Regions from separate parts of the Homo sapiens genome. Here region 1 is linked to region 2. Evidence: promoter capture Hi-C in human tissues and cell types (Jung and others, 2019). All regions are on one chromosome and are shown on one strand. Each heading gives the region's core, a stretch centred on a gene start or on the middle of the fragment in contact. The rest is flanking DNA. Distances are from core to core; before and after follow the strand shown. Region 1 overlaps ZNF778 (zinc finger protein 778). Region 2 holds the start of CBFA2T3 (CBFA2/RUNX1 partner transcriptional co-repressor 3).

Region 1 (3,851 bases), core at 358-2,857, 260 kb after region 2:
ACATTTTCATCCTGGGGTCTTGCTGTGGGGGCTAGACCGTCCCTCTCAGGCTAGATCATTCCTAAAGATGGTAAACAACTTGCTGGAAACATGCACTGCATATACAAATCAACTCACTGCATATGCACATCAACTCACTGCATATGCAACTCAACTCACACCGTATATGCAACTCAACTCACACCGTGTATGCAAATCAACTCGCACTGCGTATGCAACTCAACTCGCACTGCGTATGCAACTCAACTCGCACTGCGTATGCGAATCCACTCACTGCCTATGCAACTCAGCTCGCTCTGCGTATGCAACTGAGCTCGCTCTGCGTATGCAACCCAGCTCGCTCTGCGTATGCAACTCAAGTCGCACTGCGTATGCAACTCAGCTCGCTCTGCGTATGCAACTCAGCTCGCACTGCGTATGCAACTCAGCTCGCACTGCGTATGCAAGTCAGCTCGCTCTGCGTATGCAACTCAGCTCGCTCTGCGTATGCAACTCAGCTCGCACTGCGTATGCAACTCAGCTCGCACTGCGTATGCAACTCAGCTCGCTCTGCGTATGCAACTCAGCTCGCTCTGCGTATGCAACTCAGCTCGCTCTGCGTATGCAACTCAGCTCGCACTGCGTATGCAACTCAGCTCGCTCTGCGTATGCAACTCAGCTCGCTCTGCGTATGCAACTCAGCTCGCACTGCGTATGCAACTCGCACTGCGTATGCAACTCAACTCGCACTGCGTATGCAACTCAACTCGCACTGCGTATGCAACTCAACTCGCACTGCGTGTGCAACTCAACTCGCACTGCGTGTGCAACTCAACTCACACTGCGTATGCAACTCAGCTTGCTCTGTGTATGCAACTCAACTCGCACTGCGTATGCAAATCAACTCACTGCATATGCAACTCAGCTCGCACTGCATATGCAACGCAACTCAACTCATACTGCATATGCAACTCAACTCACACTGTATGCAACTCAGCTCGCTCTGCATATGCAATTCAACTCGCACTGCGTATGCAAATCAACTTACTGCATATGCAACTCAACTCACTGCGTATGCAACTCAACTCGCACTGCATATGCAACTCAACTCGCACTGCGTATGCAACTCAACTCGCACTGCGTATGCAACTCAGCTCGCACTGCGTATGCAACTCAACTGTTGCAAGTACTTATTTCCGGCCACTTCCTTTTTCTAACTACCACACCAAGCCAGTATTTCTCCTCCCTGAAGTCAGCCCAGGATGAGGCACTAGACAGCAGGACATGCTGTATGCCCTTGGGCCTGCTGGAAGTATGCAGACTAGCCAGCCCCAGACTTCATCCTGCCCTGTCCTGCCTTTCCTGTGAAAACCCTGTGGCCTCTGCCTCCCCTGGCTCTGACTTCTGCCTCCTGCCCAGCTCTGCAGCTCCCCTTGGGCCCTGCCTGGAGTGATGTGCCGCCTTCTCTTGACACTGTGAGTGATAAACTTTCCATGTCAGGAACCTGTGTGTGTCACTCACTCACCTTGACGAGTCCGCGTCTAGGCCCCACCAGTGGTGTGGTTTTCCTCATAGTCTCTCTACCTAAGCACATGTCTGTGACAAGGTCTTACCCAGCCCAGGGATTCTTGAACTATCTGTAGGAACTGCCATGTTGACTCCTGGGCAGTTTTATTCTTTCTCTCTACTCGTTCAACCTTCTTAGGGAGTGACGTTTTTTCCAAAGTGGTTGTGAAACAGCATCTCCTTGGGGTGTTGGTTTGCACTTCTCTTCATTACTGATAGTATGAACATGGTTTTGCTTACGCTGGCTATTTTCCTTTTTGGATGAAGTACCTGGTCTTGTTTTTTCCTGGTTTGTTTGATCTTTGTTCTTTTTTAGAAATAGTGAGGCTGTTGTGAGGTGAGTCACCACTTGTGACTTAGAAGATTGCAGTGGTTTCCACTTCACCTGTTTCCACTTTTGTGATGATGCCTTAAGGAAAAAGATTGTGCCAGGTGTGGTGGCTCAGGCCTGTAATCCCAACACTTTGGGAGGCCGAGGTGGGTGGATCACAAGGTCAGGAGATCAAGACCATCCTGGCCAACATGGTGAAACGCCATCTCTACTAAAAATAGAAAAATTGGCTAGATGTGGTGGTGCACGCCTGTAATCCCAGCTCCTTGGGAGGCTGAGGCAGGAGAATTGCTTGAAGATGGGAAGCACAGATTGCAGTGAACCGAGATCGCGCCACTGCACTCCAGCCTGGCAACAGAGTGAGACTCTGTCTCAAAAAAAAAGGAAAAATATTTCTTAATTTTGGCATACTCAAATTTATACAACCTTTCCTTTATCTTCATCAGAAATTTCTTTTCTCCTAAGGCCTTAAATATGCTGTACTATTTTGGCTTCCACAGTTTCTATGTTTTATCCCAAGTTGCTTAATCCATTTGGAGTTGATTTTTGTTGACCGTATCTGTAGAGTGTAATGTCATTTTTCCCACTATGGACATAAAAATTTTTGCAAGGCCTCTTTTTTTTAATGAAGAAAAGAGGTTTATTTTGTTCACAATTCTGAAGGCCTGGAGGGTCCCAGAAGCTTGGCACCAGCACCCACTAGGCTCCAGATCGGGGCCTCATGCTGACTTCCGTTTTCACACAACGAGTGGGAAACAGGTGTCCTAACACTGTGAGAGAAAAAATCCGAAAGTTTAGTTTTTCCCATTCGCTTGCCCTGGCCTCCAGGCAGTCCTGCAGCAGCAAACACATCATCAGCCTTAGGAGCTGGCCTGTGAGGTTGACCACTCTGTAGGTGGACGAGCCTCGCCCGAGAAGAGACATGAGCAGTTCTGCGTAGGCTTTAAGACAGAATCAACATGGAAAGCACGACCCACATGGTTTCAATAGAACTTGCCTCCTGAACCTGACTAGGTTACTCGCCTGATGAACCAGTATCTCCATCACCCGTGGGACTGACAGACCCAGAGTGTCATAACCTAAAATTCAGAAGTGTAGACTATAATCTTAAATTATTCAGCATATGTGCAACAGCCTTGGGGAGCAGTGTTATGATACCAAATGGCTAACATTCATGACCTCAGTATCCTGGAAGAAAAGGAGAAAGTGTGATGTAGTAAAACCACTTGAAAAAATAATGATGAAACATTTCTCATATTTGGTGTAAGATAAAAACTTAAGTTTGAAGAGGTTCCATGAGCCCCAGACAGGATAAACCTAAAGAAAACCAAGCCCAGGCCGGGGGCGGTGGCTCACACCTGTAATCCCAGCACTTTGGGAGGCCGAGGTGGGCGGATCACAAGGTCAGGAGATCATGACCATCCTGGCCAACACAGTGAAACCTCGTCTCTAGTAAAAAAAAAAAAAAAAAAGAAAAATACAAAAATTTAGTTGGGCGTGGTGGCGGGCGACTGCAGTCCCAGCTACTGGGGAGGCTGAGGCAGGAGAATGGCGTGAACCCGGGAGGCAGAGCATGCAGTGAGCTGAGATTGCACCACTGCACTCCAGCCTGGGCAACAGAGCGAGACTCTGTCTCAAAAAAGAAGAAAGAAAAGAAAACCAAGCCCCTGCCACCACGAAGCTGCCGAAAGCTACAGAGTGAAAGTCTTGGAAGGAGGCTGAGAAAGTGGACACAGTGCTTCCAGAAGAACAATTCAATTGACCGGGTTTCTCGTCGGAAGCCATAGAGGCCAACAGGAAATGTAGGAGCATTTTTCAAGTTCTGAAATAAAAAGAAATGCCAACCCAGATTGCTATATCCAACAAAATATCCTTTAGGAATGAAACAGAAGTAACGATGAGGCAATACAAAGAATTGCCTGCAGACCTGGTTTAAATAAATGGTTACAGAAAACTCTTAAGGAAACCTGGAACA
Region 2 (3,337 bases), core at 273-2,772:
GGTTGGGAAGTTCCTGCTCACATCTGGGGCCCTTGTGGGGGATGGCCCTGGGGCCCCACGGGCAGCTGCAGGTGGGAACAGCCTCAGGCAGCCGCCGCCAGGACCTGCTCAGGGAATGTGGTCTCCAGAGATGGGGACACCCCTCGGTCCCGGGTTCTGTGTGTGAGTGTCAGGGGTGCAGTCAGACCTTGGACCTGACGGCCTCAGTGAGAGCCCCGCGAGACGGGAGACTGTGAGCTCCTGAAGGTTCCGACGGCTGCTGGGAGTGTGGCCACGAGGGCCACTGGGAATCGGGGCCACCAGCCTGCAGCTGCAGCCCCCAGCGTCCGGGGATCCTTGTCCTGGGACTTCGCAGGCTCGGGTGGGGGGTATCAGCAATAGCTGGCGTCCTGCTGGACTGGACCCCTCCCCAGAGCCCGAAGCCCCCAGAAGGGCAGGCCCAGGTTCCCCGTAAACCCCCACTGCCCTGGCTGGAATCGTTCCTCGGACAGGGGCCCAGGGTTGGGTCCATTTCCTCCTCACCGGGGTCTTGGGCCAGTGCCCTCCCCTCTGGCCTCAGTTTCCTCATCCAACCTGCTGTGAGGTGTCACACCCGGAGGGCATCCCAGGAGGAGGAGGGCTCTCTTTCTAGGACCCCCCCATCACTTCCCGGCTGCGGCCCTCCCACCCCCAGGAGAACACAGCCCACCCTCCTAGACGGGGCTGAGCAGCCCGGCCTCCAGCATCTGCCTCTGGGTGGGGCTGGGGCACCTGGCTGGCACCTGCCAAACCCTCACCAGCCCACCTGCCCCAGCTGTGCAGGACCTGCCTGTGGGGTGGCCCTGTTGATATCTGAGGTGAGTCAACACGGCCATCCGTGCCGGCACTGTCAACTAAGCTGGGCAGGCCCCGCGAAGCTCTAAGGAGTCACAGCCCCGGCACCGGCTGCCGCTCTCTGCCCCCACCCCACCACCTTCCCCTCGAGCCTCTTACCTGGGCCGCCCTTCCTGGGACCCCGGGGTGCGGAGCAGCCGGCAGATGCCAGGAGGCCGCTCTCCAGCACAGGGTGCGTCTGGGACATGGAGCCACAGGTGGATCCCGAGGCTGAACTGGCTGCCCTGTCCCTCAGTCTTGAAGCCGGCATGAGGAGGGCCACCCTCAGGGGCCAACCTGGAGCCCAGGACAGGCCTCTACCAGGACTGCCTTTCCCGACCTCCTGCAGCCTTGAGGGAAAGAGGAGGGGCTGGGCCAGCTGGGGCGTCCTGGAGTTGGGCCTCTGTCCCTGGAAAGCCGAGGCCCTCCCGGCCACCAACTGGGTGTCCTCTGCCCTGGGGAGGGGGTGGGAGCCCTGGGGCTCATGTGACGCGGGGCGGGCCTGGGGCTGCAGGCTGGGGAAGGTCTCCCTGCAGCCTGCGGGTGAGGCAGCCAGCTGTGTCCCCGTGATAATGCCGGGGCCGGAGGCCTGCAGCTGCGCCCGCCACTTCCCTGACAGGAACCATCTGGGGCCCTGCCCTGCGCGGCCTTCCCTCGGGCCATTCCGGTTTGACCTTCCAACAACTTCCTCCTCCCAGGCAGCTCTGGTGACGTCCCACCCACCCTGAGCCCTACAGCGTGGCCACTGGGCATGTGTTTCCTCGGCCCCAGGGCAGGTGTGCAGGCCTGAGGGCAGCTCCATCCTGGCCCAGAGCCCTTGGCCTGTCCCGCCCACCCATCTTCCCCCCAGGGCTTGGCCCTTCCTTCAGCCTGGGGTATCTGGGGGTGTCCTCCCTCTCCGCTAGCCCTCAGTCAGCCGAGCTTTCCCCAGCACCCCTTTTAGTTTGCCCCCGCTCCAGGGGCCACCCTGCCCGTGTTCCTGTGTCTGCTGACTGTGCCCTTGAGCAAGGCGGGGCCTCTGACCAGCCTCTCCTCAGCCCCTGCTCCGGGGTTCTTGGGCACCTGACCTGTCCTCAAAGTACCTCCCGCCTGCTGGGAAGGAAACCCTCTCTCTCTGCTTGGCCTCGTGCACAGGGCTCCTGGCCCTCTGTGGAGACAGCAGGGCTCCCCCACTCTCCGGGGGTGCCTCAGAAAGACCCTCACCCCACGCCCCAGCGGCCGCCTCCGGTGAGCAGCCTGGAGTTTGCGGGGGTCGGGGGTAGGTGGCTTCTCCAGTCTGGGAAATTCCAGAAGCCACCTCAGAGCACTCTTGGGACTACTTAGACCCTAGGGAGAGTCCTAGGACCCCTTTCTAGCGGCCGTTGGGCTGAGAGAGTGAGGCACATCCCAGATGCTGGGAAAAAAAGCCACTTTCTAAAGCTCCCTGACAACTGTCAGAGGGCAGGAGCTTCCTGGGAGGGGACAGTGACCCTTCGGCCCTGCAGCCCTGGTTCGGTGGCTTTTCTGATGCCATGGCTGGAGGTTTCCCGGCCTCAGACAGGCCAGAGGTGTGGAGCCCGCAGACCCAGGGCCGGCTCACGGGCATCTGTGCTATTTTGATTTGATTTGATTTGAGTTTTAGGTCACGTTTGCACGCAGTTAATAATTCAAGCCGTGCAGGAGTAAAAGCCGACTCCTTCCCCGCAGGGTCTCCAGGTGTCCCGGGTCTCCCTGTCCCAATAGTCGAGTGTCTTTCTCGAGTTGGTGACAACAAGCTGCATGCCAGCGTGTGTGTCCAGCTTACAGTGGGGATGTGTTTGTTCCTGCTGGGGAACTTCCCAGACGCCAGGCCCACCCGGGGCCTCCCCTGCCCTGGGTGGTCGGCCGTTCTGCCCCCAGGACTGAGGCTGGAGGGGACATTCCTGCCAGCCCGGGGCCCATCCCCTGGTGCCATCATTCGGTCCCCACGTCCCCTGCTGTTCCCTGTGCTCTGGCTCAGGGTGGGATTCACAGTGAGGGTCCTGGGGGCCCTGACCCTCCTGGTTTCCTCATTTGTGCAGGGTGCACGATCCTAACGGCGTCAGCTCCTACAGCGTTTCCGGGAGTGGAGACAGCAGAGGCTCTGAGCCGCCACATGGGCCGGGGCCACCGTGAGCATGTGGCTGGGGTTGGTCTGTGTCAGTGCCTATTCCCCAGCTGTGTGCAGTGAGAGTCTCAGAGTCGGGGAACTGAGGGTCTCAGGGGGCACAGCCCCCACTCCGTGAGGCAGCAGGACAGCACCCTGGGTGAGGGTGGTGGCTCCCCCCACCCGGGGTAGGAGACAGGCAGCCCTGCCCCCAGCCCTGAGGCAGATGTTCGAGGCCTGCACCTGCGCCCCCCACAGATGGGACACTTCCACTTTCGCAATGAGGCCCTGAGCTCCCCGCCTGGCCCCGTCTTGCCTGGTGTCTAATCAGGGGGTCTGACGGAGGTGGGGTTGGAAAGAGAAGAGAAGAAAGTTGCCCAC

Evidence for each region. Contacts are between HindIII fragments. The study calls those that stand out against the background at their distance.
Region 1: a contact is called between a fragment that was not itself captured here and the fragment with the promoter of CBFA2T3 in region 2, in 1 of the 25 tissues and cell types used here (small bowel).

The regions. Positions count from the first base shown.
Region 1 is chr16:89,232,665-89,236,515 of GRCh38, forward strand. ZNF778 (zinc finger protein 778) reads left to right here. Exons shown (of 7, transcript NM_001201407.2): 7 at 1-3,851. Among named protein-coding and RNA genes, the nearest start is that of ZNF778, 17 kb to the left of the region's middle. The HindIII fragment of the contact is 6,577 bases long and covers 1-3,851 here.
Region 2 is chr16:88,975,685-88,979,021 of GRCh38, forward strand. It overlaps CBFA2T3 (CBFA2/RUNX1 partner transcriptional co-repressor 3), which reads right to left and starts at 1,523. Exons shown (of 12, transcript NM_005187.6): 1 at 973-1,523. The coding sequence starts at 1,123. RefSeq lists enhancers at 1-192, 1-54, 1,895-1,944. The HindIII fragment of the contact is 13,654 bases long and covers 1-3,337 here.